3 separate regions of the Homo sapiens genome follow, and regions 1 and 2 are each linked to region 3. The links are contacts of gene promoters, found by promoter capture Hi-C in blood cells and fetal thymus (Javierre and others, 2016). All regions are on one chromosome and are shown on one strand. Each heading gives the region's core, a stretch centred on a gene start or on the middle of the fragment in contact. The rest is flanking DNA. Distances are from core to core; before and after follow the strand shown. Region 1 holds the start of NR2C1 (nuclear receptor subfamily 2 group C member 1). Region 2 overlaps VEZT (vezatin, adherens junctions transmembrane protein). Region 3 holds the start of CDK17 (cyclin dependent kinase 17).

Region 1 (4,387 bases), core at 1,642-4,141, 1.3 Mb after region 3:
ATAATCCCCTATTTTTACTGCACTTTTTTTTTAAAAGGACTTAGTTTACTTTTTCTATGTTTATATATATTTAGATACACAAATACCTACCATTATGTTACAACTGCCTACAGTATTCAGTAACATGCTGTACGGGTTTGTCCTAGGTTTGTGACTTAAGAGCAACAGACTACAACATACAGCCTAGGTGTGTCTAGGCTAGACCATCTAGGTTTGTATAAGTACGCTCTATGATGAGAGTAAAATGAAATTGCCTAAGGACTCATTTCTCAGAACATATCCCTGACGTGACTATACTTTCATAATTTTCACCTTTGGGACCAGCTTATGGTATTGGCAGGGGTCTCCCTTAAAACCAAACCAAATACACAACAAATAATGCTAAAAGGTAGAGGTTGGAAAAAAAAAAAAGTTTCACTCTCGCCCAGGCTGGAATGCAATGGTGCCAACACTGGACCAGACTCCTGGGCTTAAGCAATCCTCCCACCTCAGCCTCCTCAGTAACTAGGAATACAGGCCTGCACCACCATGCCTTTTTTTTTTCTTTTTTTTTTAAGAGATGGAGTCTCACTATGTTGCCCAGGCTGGTCTCAAACTCCTGGCATCAAGCAAGCCTCCTACCTCAGCCTCCCAAGGCTCTGGGGGCAGAAGCCACTGTGCTCAGCAGAGGTGGATTTTTAATGAGGGATAAAGCATATTTTTACTTGTTAGGGATTGTTTCATGCCTTGATCTCTGTCCGTCTGCCTAGTTCCAGAGAGAAATAACAGAGATGTTCTCATTCCCAGCAAACGTTTGTTTTTCCTTCCTTGGATTTCTGCCCTGAGTTTGTGGCTGCTTTCCTACAGTGCCGACCTAAGCTAGATAAAATAGAAATTTCATGACAAAACAAAGGAGATTTAAAAAAAAACTAGAAATTTCAAGAATGCTTCAAAATCTAAAGCGCAGAGTACTTTGCACACAGGGCAGTTATTCCTGCCACACCTTGCCACTACAGGTGGCCACTGTCAGAATGCGATGTTCCACCAATGTCTCTTCATTTCACAATTTGAAAAATTTTTTTTGTGGAGGCAGGGTTTTGTTATCTTGCCCAAGCCGGTCTCCAACTGCTGGCCCCAAGTGATCTTTCCTTGGCCTCCCAGCAGCCACTTGCCTGGCTTTCATTTCATACATCATTATTGAATAGCAGGCATTGTCCTATGTGCTTGGTAATACATCACTGAGCAAAACAGACAAAAAACGGCCATTGAGGATAATCCTCAATATATAATAATATATATATTATAGAGAGGATGTGGAATATACATATATATGTGTGTGTGTATATATAGAGAGAGAGAGAAAGACTCATTGTGTCACCCAGGCTGGAGTGCGGTGGTGTGATCTTGGCTCACTGCCGTCTTGACTCAGGTGATCCTCCCACCTCAGCCTCCAAGTAATTGGGACGACAGGCACGCGCCACCAGGACTGGCTAATTTTTTTGTAGAGACGGGTTTTCGCCATGTTGGCCAGGCTGGCCTCAAACAACCGGGCTCAAGTGATCCGTCCGCCTCGGCCTCCCAACTTGCTGGGATTACAGGCGTGAGCTACCGTGCCCAGTCTCTAGTGATTATATTCTTGCCCTGTTTAGCCATTATGTCTCTTTACTCACAACAGTTTATAAGTGAAACTTTGCCTTACCATTTGCATGAGTCGGCCTCAGCTTGTCATTATATATAAAGCTTACTAATGTAAATGACGAGTTAATGGGTGCAGCACACCAACATGGCACATGTATACATATGTAACGAACCTGCACGTTGTGTACATGTACTCTAGAACTTAAAGTGTAATACAAAAAAAAAAAAGTTTAAATATGATTGGACTCTACCCCAGAGCCCAGTTTTCCAGAAATTAGAAACAGATATGCCTAAGACCCAGAGGGTTATTTATTACTCAAATCTAAAACGTTGACTCAAAACCTCCCCTAATGCCCACCTTTGGCAAACGATGCTTAAACCTTTGCACGTGGCTTCAAAAATTACCTGGCTGGGAACGCGTAGCTCTGGCGGGGCACTCTGCCTCCAAGCCAAAAGGGGGCAGTGGACTCACAGAGCCGCTGCTCGGCCCTCCGATCCCTCCACCCCACCCTGGGAACGTCACGACCTCCTCTCGCCGCTTCTCCCCGTTGCTAATGCGCAGGCGCTGGCGGGATAGCGCGCCGCCGAGCCGAGAAAGAGGTCACGAACTCTGACCCCCCAGAAATACCCAAACACAGAAAGCTCTCTCCGCCGTGAATCTCGATCCCACATCCCGTCGGCTTTCTTCAACCTCTCTTCCCGGAGCGCCCCCCAATCCACGAGTGGCAGCCGCGGGACTGTCGCGTCGGCGCCCGACGCCGGAGTCAGCAGGGCGCAAAAGCGCCGGTAAGAAACGCTGGGTGGGGACACCAGCGACCGCGTCGGGGGCGGGGGCCAGGGGGTGCCCTTCACCCCAACCGCCAACGGACGCGGTCCCAGCGCATCCCCCGGCCGGCGTCCTGCGGCCAGCGGAGCCGTTCAGTTTGGGAGCGCCGCTTGGGGCTGCTCGACTTCGGCTGGGAGCGCGGAGCTGCGGCGCCAAATGCGCGGGGCCCCGGGAGAGGCGGGGGCGACAGGGGCGGCGGGACGCGGGGCCGGACGGCGAGCGGCTTGGAGCACACAACCCCCTTTCCAGCTGCGCTTACCGCAGCGCCTCTGACCTTTAACCTGCAGGGAAAGCTTCCGCGGCGCTGCAGCTTTCCCCGCCCGGGAGAGCCGCGCGCAGCGCCGGGGCTTCCAGGGCGCACGGCTAACGCCGGCACGAGTGAGACGTGGGAGAGGCCGACCCTCGGCTAGTGGCCGCAAGTCCCGGCCTGCATCCCGTCACTAACTCCCGTGCTTTCACGGGACGGACAGAATGACTCCCCCCACTTTCACTTTTCTCTCACGGCAAATCTGGCCAGGGTCGTCGCTGCCTGTGGGCCTGGATCTTTTCAGAAGAAATGGAACGGCCCCAGGGTTCTCACTGCAGGGGGCATGTCCAAGCTTCCGATAGATAGCTCTTTTGTTAAGAAATAATTCTTCCAACTCGGGCAGATACCATTTTTGTGCAGTACGAATGTTGCCAGGTTGTCCCATAATCTTCAGTAAGTAGGTCAGCCTTTAAAAAAGTAACCGGAAAGCAAAAGCAGAAAGACCTAAAATTACGGCCTTTAGGGTTTAGTACCGCTAGAATTTGTAAATGGACCTTCGATTTTGAGCTTTTTTGAACCATTTCTGCTGTGTGGTTGGTGATACTCGATTTTTTTTTCTTTTTTTTTTTTTTTTTTTGAGAGGGAGAGGGAGTCTCACTGTCGCCAAGCTGGAGTGCGGTGGCGCGATCTCGGCTCACTGCAACCTCCGCCTCCAGGTTCAAGCGATTCTCCTGTCTCAGCCTCCCGAGTAGCTGGGATTACAGACACGAGCCACCACACCCAGCTAGTTTTTTTGTTTTTGTTTTTGTTTTTGTTTTTTGTATTTTTAGTAGAGGTGGGGTTTCACTATGTTGGCCAGGATGGTCTTGATACTCTGACCTCGTGATGTACCCGCCTCTGATCCACCCGCCTCGGCCTCCCAAAGTACTGGGATTACAGGCGTGAGCCACCGCGCCCGGCCGATGATTGTTTTTAAACTTTGCTTTAAGTCCAGTTAGTATATCTGAAAAAGCGATGTGTATTTCTATCATTAAAAGTGGGTCGCGGCTGGGCGCGGTGGCTCACACCTGTAATCCCAGCACTTTGGGAGGCTGAGGTGGGCGGATCATCTGAAGTCGGGAGTTCGAGACCAGCCTGACCAACATGGAGAAACCCCGTTTCTACTAAAAATACAAAATTAGTCGGGCGTGGTGGCGCACACCTGTAATCCCAGCAACTCCGGAGGCCGAGGCAGGAGAATTGCTTGAACCCGGGAGGCGGAGGTTGCAGTGAGCTGAGATCGCGCCATTGCACTCCAGCCTGGGCAAGAAGAGCGAAACTCCGTCTCAAAAAAAAAAAAAAAAGTGGGTTTTATGAAATGTTGCTAATCTTAGTTTTTCAAGGGGCATGTTAGTTTCTTCTAGGAAAGGTTTTTTTGTTTTGTTTTATAGAAATGGTGGGGGGCCTCATTTTGTTATCCAGACAGATCTCTGGCCTCAAGCTATCCTCCTGCCTCAGCCTGTTGAGTAGCTGGAATTACAGGCACCGCATCTTAAGGAAGGATTTTGAGGGAGCAAACATCCCCAAACACACACCGTCTGTGTGTCTGCCACACAATGTATAATCCCTACTCTTGGGGAATAAAAACAAAACAGCATACAATAAATAATAGTATAAATATAATTCGTTGCCGTTTTTCAGTGACAAGACCATCTACA
Region 2 (4,660 bases), core at 749-3,248, 1.2 Mb after region 3:
GAGTAATCAAGTGGTAGATGGCAAGAAAACATGCCTTACAAGCTTTCAGCTCTTCAAAAGAAGGCCTTTCTCAGTCAGTGGCCTGAGATCTAAGTTGAATGAAAGTGGTAATAGGGGTAGAGGGGGTTACAGGTCTCATAGGTGGTAAAGCCCAAACACAGGAAATAAGATGGCTGCTCCTAGCCTTTCCCAAGAAGAATCCCGTGATAAGAGTTACAGGTTAGCTGGACATGGTGGCACCTGCCTGTAGTCCCAGCTACTTGAGAGGCTGAAGTGGTAGGATCACCTGAGCCAGGAGTTGGAGGCTGCAGTGAGTTATGATGGTTAACACTGCATTCCAGCCTAGGCAACAGTGCAAGACCCTGTCAAAAAAAAAAAAAAAGTTGTGGCTTTAGGTACAGGAATGCAATCACTAACAAATAGTAGCCGTAGAGGGAAAGAATTCAGACAAGAAACACCCAAACCTCTCTGGCGCTCTTTCCTCCATCCTCTGATCTGCAGGTCCTTCCCACTGGCCGAACCTAAATGGAACCCAGAGGACAAGGGAATGCAGTGATGCAGTCCATAATGATCAGGGTGGAATTATGGGTCTGAGGGACACAGGGAGAAAAATAATCACCAATGATAACATCAATCCCTCAACTATATACTTGGGTATTAAATAAGAAATAAAAATGGAACTTATACAACCATGAGACAAACTACATTTCAAAACTTTCGTGATACAACTGAAGCAATACTCAGGGAAATTTATAGCCTTACAAGTTATTTTGGGCATTTAGGTTTTTAACTCAAGAAGCTAAAAAAAACAGAACAAAAATAGCAAAATAAACACAAATAGATGAATGGAAATAGATAAAAGTAGAAATTTTAAAAAAATTTAAAACCACAAACAAATTCAATAGAACTGACCAAACAAAACCAACTAGTTTTTTGAAAAGTCTACCTGAGGCCAGGCACGGTGGCTCACATCTGTAATCCCAGCACTTTGGTAGGCCGAGGTGGGTGGATCACCCGAGGTCAGGAGTTCAAGACCAGCCTGGCCAACATGGTGAAACCCCATCTCTACTAGAAATACAAAAATTAGCTGGGCATGGTGATGGGTGCCTGTAATCCCAGCTACTCGGGAGGCTGAGGCAGGAGAATTGCTTGAACCCAGGAGGCAGAGGTTGCAGCAAGCCAAGATCCTGCCATTGCACTCCAGCCTGGGCGACAAGGCTAACAGAGTGGAACTCTGTCTCAAAAAAAAGAAAAGTCTATCTGGTAAGTTGAAACTCCAGCACATCTATGCAAAACAAAAAGAAAAACATAACAACAATCAGATCTAATTTGTGCTATAAATGAAACTAAAGAGACTACTAAGAATATATCAATAATTTTGAAAACCTAGATAAAAAGCAATTTGTTGGAAAAATTTAATAAAAGGTAACATTTACTGAGTGTTTACAATGTGTCAGGTACTCATCTAAGTAATTCACTTATATTAAATCATTTAGTACTCATAACTACCTTACGAGATAGTTACTGTTATTTTTATTTAATATGGAGAAAACTGAAGCTTAGACAAGTTAAGTAACCTGCTCAAAGTCACATTAACTAATATAACTAATAAATAGCTGACCTAGGATTTCTTAGGTTATCCAGCTCCAGAGCCCATATCTTTAACTATATTACACTGCCTTTCAGAATAAAAAAGTTATCAAAATAGAAAATTGTACCTGAGCAATAACCATAAAAGAAATTGAGCTGATAGACAACATTCAGTCTCTTTTCCCCAGGAAAGGCCAATTTAGCTATACTCTGAAGAAACAGATAATTCTCATTTTGTAAAATCAGTCCTAGAGCACAGAACGAGATGAGAAGTTGCTTGATTCATTTAGAAGGCAAGCAATAAATGTTCACGGATTGGAAGATTCAATATTGATTGTAAAGATGTTAAGTTTCCCCAGATTAATTTATAGCTTCAAAGCAATTTCAATCAAAGTCTCAGTAGGGTTTTTTTATTTTTATTTTTTATTTTTTTACAAAAACTGACAGGCTGATTCTAAAATTTATATGGAAATATAATGGGCCAAGAATAGCCAAAGGCAATCCTGAAGAAAAATACAGCTGAAGGGTCTTATGCTATCAGATATTAAAACCTATTTTTTAAATTATAGTAATTAAAATAATGTGGTATTAACACACGAATAGACAAAATGATCAATGGCAAAGAAGACAGTGTCCAGAAAGAGATCTACACATAAAAGATTCCCTGATTTATGACAAAGGCAACACTACAGTTCAGTGGGGAAAAAATGATCTGTTCAGTAAATGGTGCCAGGTCAACTGGACATCCATACGGGGAAAAAAAAATGTTGATCTTCACTTGTTACCATACAAAAATCAGTACCAGATGGATGACAGATCTAAATGGGAAAATGTCAAATAAAGCTTTTAAAGAAAATATCTTTGTGACCTTAGAGTAGGCAAATATTTTTTTAACAGCACTAATCACAAAAGAATAAGGTTTAATTGGATTATAATAAGGAGCTTCTGTTCATTGAAAGACACGATTAAAAGAGTGCAGAGGCCACATATAGCCCAAGGTAAGATATATGAGGTATATACAGTTGTCTCTTTATTCATGGGGAATTGGTCACAGGACTAGGGCAAATACCCAGTCCATGGATGCTCAAGTCCCTTATATAAAATGGCATAGTATTTGCATATAACATACACACAGTCTCCCACATATTTTAAATCATCTCTAGATTATTTGTAATACCTAATACAATGTGAACACTATGTAAATAGTTGTTATCCTGTATAGTTTTTTTATTTGTATTATTTTTTGAATATTTTTGAGTATTTATTTATTTATTTAGAGATATGGTCTCACTCTGTCACCCAGGCTGGAATTGTAGCTCACTGCAGCCTCAAATTCCTGGGCTCAAGCAATCTTCTGCCTCAGGCTGTGGAGTAGCTGGCATTACAGACATGCATCACCACACCTGGTTAATTTTTTTCTTTTTTTTTTTTAATATGCAGGGTTTTGTTAATGTTGACCAGGCTGGTCTTAAACTCCTGGCTTCAAGCAATATTCCTACCTTAGCCTCCCAAAGTGCTGGGATTACAGGCATGAGCCACCTCACTGGGCCAGAGTATTTCCTTTATTTTTTTTTTTTGAGATGGAATCTTACTCTGTCACCCAGAGCAACCTCCGCCTCCTGGGTTCAAGCGATTCTCATGCCTCAGCCTCTGGAGTAGCTGGGACTACAGGTGCATGCCACCATGCCCAGCTAGTTTTTGTATTTTTTAGTAGAGACTGGGTTTCGCCATGTTGGCCAGGCTGGTCTCAAACTCCTAGCCTCAAGTGATCTGCCTGGCTTAGCTTTCCAAAGTGCTAGGATTATAGGCGTGAGCCACGGTTGGTCCAATCTGCAGATGTGGAACTCTCAGCTAAGGAGGGCCAACTGCATCTCTAACAAAGGACTTGTATCCAGTGTATGTAAATAATTCCTTCAAATCAGCAAGAAAAAGAAACAACCCAATAGAAAAATATGCAAGAAATTTGACGTGGCTTCACAAAATGGATATACAATTGGCTAATAAACACATTAAAAATCTTAACATCTTTATCAAGAAAATACAAATTAAAACCACAAGGAGATACCAGGACATAGCCCCTAGAATCATAAAAAGAAAAACACTAAAATTAGCAAGGGTTGATGAGGATGTGGGGCAATGGGACCTCTCATACATTCCTGGCTGGAGAATAAACTGGTACAACCACTTTGGAATAAAGTTTGGCAATATCTACAGAAATATCTAGGTATTTGCTATGACCCAGCAATTCCATTCCTACATATATATCCACCAGAAATATGTTTAACCAAACACATACAAAAAGGTTCACAGTAGCACTAGTTTAAACCTGGGAACTACTCAATGACCATTAATAGAAGAATGAATTTAAAAATGATCATATATTCACATGGAATACTATGCCAAAATAAAAATTCTCATGTTAACAATATGGACGAATCTCACAAATAAAGCCAGAGAGGAAAAAAAAAAGTCAGAAATAAGAGAGTATATAAATGGAAATGCACAGTGTCTAAACAATAAAAATAGACAAAATTAATCTAGGTTATTATGTTTAAATAGTGATCATTTTGGGGTAGGGAGTAGTGATGGAAAGGACCAGGAGGGAGCTTCTGGTGTGCTGGTGATGTTGTTTCTTTTTTCATTTTTTATTTTTTTGGGGCAGAGTCTGGCTCTGTCATCCAGGCTGGAGTACAGCGGTGCGATCATGGCTCACTGCAGCCTTGACCTACCCAGGCTCAAGTGATTCTCCCACCTCAGCCTCCCGAGTAGCTGGGACTATAGGCATGTGCCACCACGCCCAAATAATTTTTGTCTTTTTTGTAGAGATAGGGTTTCACCATGTTGTCCAGGCTAATCTCAAACTCCTGGGTTCAAGGGATCCATCTGCCTCAGCCTCCCAAAGTGCTGAGATTACAGGTGTGAGCCACCATGCCCCATCTGTCCCGTTTCTTGATCTGGGTGCTGGTTACATGGGTGTGCTCAACATGTGAAAATATAACCATCCACACACTTGTGATCTGTGCCCTGTCCTTATGTAAATTATACTGCAATAAAAATTGTGTATATCAAA
Region 3 (4,906 bases), core at 86-2,585:
GCATAATTGTTGCTAATTTACGGGTCCTGGTAATTTTAGAGGCATGGGAAAAGCCTGATTGACACGTACGATCGTTGGATATAACTGTAGATGCATTTAACTTTGCCAAACAAAATAAGAGAAAGATGTCAGCATGCAGCATTTTTAAGGGGGAAAGGATTCATCCCTAAATCCAAAAAGATAATTCCCCGAAGTTCTTAGCACATAATGTGATTTGAAACTTCAAAGCAGCTTCTACTTCCGGGTGTTAACATGGGAAAAAAAATTTATCTCACTTCACAGGACTTTTATGTGGGTTTTTTTTTCTTGTTTATGTTGTCTACATCCGGTCCCTACTCTCTTCTTTCAATCCTCTCATTATCTCCCTCTAGGGGTTTAAGTTTGTTTTAACTTTATGCTTTTATCCTTATTAGTGGAAAAAAGTGGGTCAGTATTACTTTAGTTTGTCTTCACTGCCACTCTGCTGTTCATTCCTGAACTAGCTTTTAGCCTCTGGGAAAGGAGAAAGTAAAAACAGTTGCAGAAACTGGGCCAACCTCTCGCGGCCCGCCTCCCCCAAGAAAACAAAACCTAACCCGTGCAACAGTAGTCCTTTCTGTTTTCATAGCACCTTGTATTTCTCCGCTCATAACGTTCAGATTTTTATGATAGTTATTGATCATCTTTCATCCCAGCTAGACTCTCCGTCCTTAGAGGACTCAGCATATTGCCGGGCACATGATAATATATACAAAACACTGTACTGTAGTTTAAATGAATAGATGCCGTGTGTGTGAGAGACTGCGGCACTAGTACCCACGTACCCACACACAACAAAGGAGAAAAGTTGCAGCCATCAACATCTTTCAGTGTGGGTCCTTTGACATGGACTCTCTAGAAAGTCAGTGGAGAACTGTGGCATGGACACCTTGTACAGTAATTACTTGTATAACTGAAGCACGAGTTTTGGTTTGGTAGCGGGAAGTTGAGGGGCAGGGGGATGTTGGAGGGGCTGAATTATTCACATAATTTCTCCCCCAGTCGCTGCGGACAGGCACTCATTCCGGTGGGGTCCCCTGGCCCCCTCCGCCGCTCCCCCGACGCCCGCATTTCGGAGCGGGCAGTTTCCCGGGGACACCCGCCCCGCCCTGCAGGCCCCGCCCCCGGCCGCCGGCCCCGCCCCCGCCTCCGCCGCCGCCGGCAGGGGTCGCGCTGCCCCCGGCGAGCCGCTCAGGCGGGGGTGGGGTAAGCTCCCGCGGCCGGTCGCTTTTCTCCGCCGCCGCTGGTTGGATCGTTTCAATAAAAGTGTTTTTTCTCTTGCACTCGCTCTCCTCCGGGGAACAGGCGGAGGCGTCAATCCGCAGCCGCCGAGTGTGAAAGCGACGCACACGCAAGGAGCGAACGCGGCCGCCCGCAGTCTCCTGAGCTCCCCGCGGGCCGCCGCAGAGCCGCGGAGAAGGAGCCAGCGCCCGGCCAGACAGTCTCAGCCCGCCGTCGGCGCCCGCCGCGCTCGCGCCCGGCTGCTCCGAGGGGATTAGTGGGCCGTCCGCGCGGCTCGTCGGCGCGGGAGCCATGTTGACCGAGGGACTTGGCAACGCGTGAGACACCCGCGGCCCCTCCCGAGGCTCCGGACCCGCGGCGAGAGCCGGAAGGCGGCTGTGGCGGCGGAGGCCTGCGCTCGGAAGCGCCTCACGTCTGCCGGCCGCTGAGACCCGGACTTGCATCCGGTCGCCGCGGGCGTCCGCGGAGCAGCTTCCCCCCGCGCCTCTCTTCGCCTCGCCTCGGGACCCGCGGTCCCCGCTCTTGCTGGTGAGTTGGCGGCTGGCGTCCGCGCCGCGCTTTCCCCTGGTGTCGGGTCGGCCGCGGGGCCGGGAGGCTGCGTGGGACAGAGGCGGGGGCGGGGGCTACTGGGGGCGCGGGTGGCTCAGGCCCGGTCGGGAAGTTGAGCGAGGAGGCGCGGCGCGGGGGGCTAGCGTGCGCCTGTCACCTCTCCGGTCCAGCGAGGACCTTGGGTCGCCCGGGGATTTCCGGGGCTCGGGTGGGGTGTGAGTGTCTGCGAGCTGCTTCCCAGGAGGCGCCGACAGATATAGACGCCGCCGCCTCCGGTGCTCGCTGCCGCTTTGGTCTGCGGGGGAGGCCGGTCTCCTCGCGAGGCGGAGGAGGGGAAAGAGGCAGAAAGTCCCCCGAGACACAAAGGTCCCCTCGGCGGGGGTGGAGCTGGAGGCGCAGGCGACGCTGCCCGGGAGGGGAAGGAAGGGGCGCGGGTCCGCGGGAGGTGGGCGAGGAGGCGGCGGTCGCGGCGCCTGCAGCTCCTTGGAGACGCTGGCGCTGTGCGCGGGTGGGGAGCGCGGAGGAGGAGGAGGAGCCCGCGCGTGGGAGCGGGTAGAGACAAAGATCAGGGCAGCCTCCTGCTGGCGGGTCACACCCCGGAGTGTTGGTCAAGAGCGGAGGTAGAGGGAAGGTGGGAAACCCAGCAAACCGATGGGGAGGGGAAAATGGGGGGAGGAGGGTGCCTAGTGCTGTCTCCGTCGCAGTTGCTTTTCTCAGCATTTTTGTGCCCGATGCTATGCCCGATGCTTTTGCTCCCCAACTCAGCTGGATAGCTCCAGATTCCCTCCCTCCTGTCACCCCCACACTGCCACATTGACTCTCCTGTGGTTTTTCCCTCGTTCTCCCCCTACTTTTCACCCACTCCTTTTCGGGTAAGCAGTATTTTGCTTTCAGCTTGGGGAACATTTGTTAATGACAGGATGTCTGAGCTTGTTCTGACCCTGAACTGCCTTGAACTTCTCTCTCTTCCTCCCACCCTTTCCTTTTCTGGGATCTATAATGTCACATGGCCGTTAACAATTAGCTTTTCTTTTGCAAAAGTGGCAAAAAGCGTTTAGCTGAAATCTGTGGCTCTCGCCTCCTTTACATGAATATGTCCACCAAAGACACCTCGTTGGTCATGTTCTATCACCTCTTCGTCAAATTGACATCAGGTCCTAACAGGTCACTTTCAAGATACAGAAGAGGCAAATTTTGTTTTGAGACTTGGCCATTCCTAGGGTCAGCAAAGTGTATTCCTGGCAGCCAGACCTTCAGTCACTTATCAGGAAATGCTTGACCTAAAGACAGACAATTCTTTCCCCAAACTTTGCTGTTTCTTTTTTGAGTCTTTGTTGAAAGATTTCTTTTAAAAGGCGTTCGTGTGAGAAGATCACAGCAACAAATCTGGCTTGTTCTGTTTTAGACTTACTTTCTTAACTCTTGGGCAGAAGAAAATGAATGAGATTTGAAGACCTTTGATACCTTGGGTAGACAAAGCTTGCCTTGAAACTAGAAATAAGACGAAACTAGATTTTAAGGGGAAAAAATTTGCTAGTGGTAATATAATTGGTTTTGTTTCATTTTTTTATGAGTCTGAGGAGTTGACATTAAACGTTGGGATGTTGCTTTGTTAATGAAGTCATTTCAATTTTTGCAACTCTTAACATCTGCATGCTTCCATAAACAGTGGGTTGGAACAAAAGAAAATGTGACTAAGGGATATTCCTTAAATTCTTTTTTATGTTATGAGAGAGAATATTGGAATATAAAGAATGTTACTTTATCTGGTAAACCATCTCATAGGCCAGAAGCACTAACAGTTTGAATGGTTGGCTTAAAAAAAAACGGGAGTCTTTGAATTTAAGCTTATGTAAAATTACTATGCAAATATAGGTTATTATTTATTTTTACAGTGAAAATAAAACACTATTGAAGTATAAATGGAAAGAAAATAAAAGCAAAGCCTGTTTAATATAGAGACATTAATGTTGATATCACTGTACGAACAGTCATAGCTTGCTGCTCACTGCCGTTAAAGGGTTGACATACAAACATTGTGGAAGAGATTTCAGTTTGAGGGCTAGTGTCTGAATTATGGACTCCTTACCCTACTCCACCACTTAAAACATTTTAGAGACTTTTGTGAAATTAACAGGTCATATAATTAATAATTGTTGTTTTATGTACATTTATTGAAAGGCCATATTGAGGCTCCATTGATTTTTTTTCCTGCATATTTATCAGTATCGAATTAGAAAATTGAACCTTCAGTGTTACTAGATGGAAATCTACCAAAAAGTAGCAAGGTTTACGAATGGTGGGATTTATTGGTGATTAAACATTTTTTTCCTGTATTTTATAAGTTTCACATTACATTTACAATGAGAAAAAAATGTAAATGTAGAATTAAAGTCTTGTTAATATCGTAATTTGCCTATTGCTGTACTAAAAGAAGCTTCTATAAAATGTATCATTCTCATCCTTAGATTCAGGCCAGAAAGTAACTTTCAGTGTTAGGTATTTGAAATAATGCAGCCTGTCATATGTACTCTGGTTACCAGAATGAAAAAACAAAAAGAGATACATACATAGTAAGGAAACATGAAATTGGAGGAATTGATCCCCATGTGTATTGCAGCTTCATATACCAGTAGTCTCTAATAAGTCATTGCTTTAATAAAAAAAAAAATAGAAAATTTAAATTTTATTTGCCCGGTAGCACAGGGATAGCTATGTTGACTAAGCGCAGATTTTAACGTATATGTTTGTTGATATATTTAGTTTTCAGATACCAGTTCAGTCCTACAATTATGGCGAAACTAGATGGCATATAAAATCATTTTGTTGCTTTGTTGAGGCTTGTTTTTTTCCTTATTTTCAGCAATATTTTCCTTCTTTCCTTTCACTGAAAAACAATGCAACTATTTTATTTTGAACAATGGAAGCTGTAATGGCAACTGGGGTAGCTATTCAAAAGTGGAGATGACGATGTCCCTTAATATTATAACAGTTATCTGTGAACACAAAAATTTTTACCCTATGATTTTCTTTGTTATTGTCTACTAATGCTGAATATTTATAAGACATTACATTTTGAATCTTTATTGATGTTTCC

The links. Contacts are between HindIII fragments. The CHiCAGO score rates a contact against its expected background, and 5 or more counts as called.
Region 1: a fragment that was not itself captured here is called in contact with the fragment with the promoter of CDK17 in region 3 in 1 of 17 cell types (fetal thymus); the score reaches 8.1 in fetal thymus.
Region 2: a contact is called between a fragment that was not itself captured here and the fragment with the promoter of CDK17 in region 3, in 1 of 17 cell types (fetal thymus). The highest score is 5.4, in fetal thymus.

Annotation. Positions count from the first base shown.
Region 1 is chr12:95,071,396-95,075,782 of GRCh38, reverse strand. It overlaps NR2C1 (nuclear receptor subfamily 2 group C member 1), which reads left to right and starts at 2,165. Exons shown (of 14, transcript NM_003297.4): 1 at 2,165-2,403. RefSeq lists enhancers at 2,068-2,387, 2,078-2,578 and a silencer at 2,468-2,747. The HindIII fragment of the contact is 306 bases long and covers 2,739-3,044 here.
Region 2 is chr12:95,220,041-95,224,700 of GRCh38, reverse strand. All of the region lies in intron 1 of VEZT (vezatin, adherens junctions transmembrane protein), which reads right to left. Among named protein-coding and RNA genes, the nearest start is that of VEZT, 4.6 kb to the right of the region's middle. The HindIII fragment of the contact is 875 bases long and covers 1,561-2,435 here.
Region 3 is chr12:96,396,868-96,401,773 of GRCh38, reverse strand. It overlaps CDK17 (cyclin dependent kinase 17), which reads left to right and starts at 1,335. Exons shown (of 17, transcript NM_002595.5): 1 at 1,335-1,788. RefSeq lists an enhancer at 352-571 and silencers at 992-1,321, 1,412-1,591, 1,772-1,931. The HindIII fragment of the contact is 3,343 bases long and covers 1-3,290 here.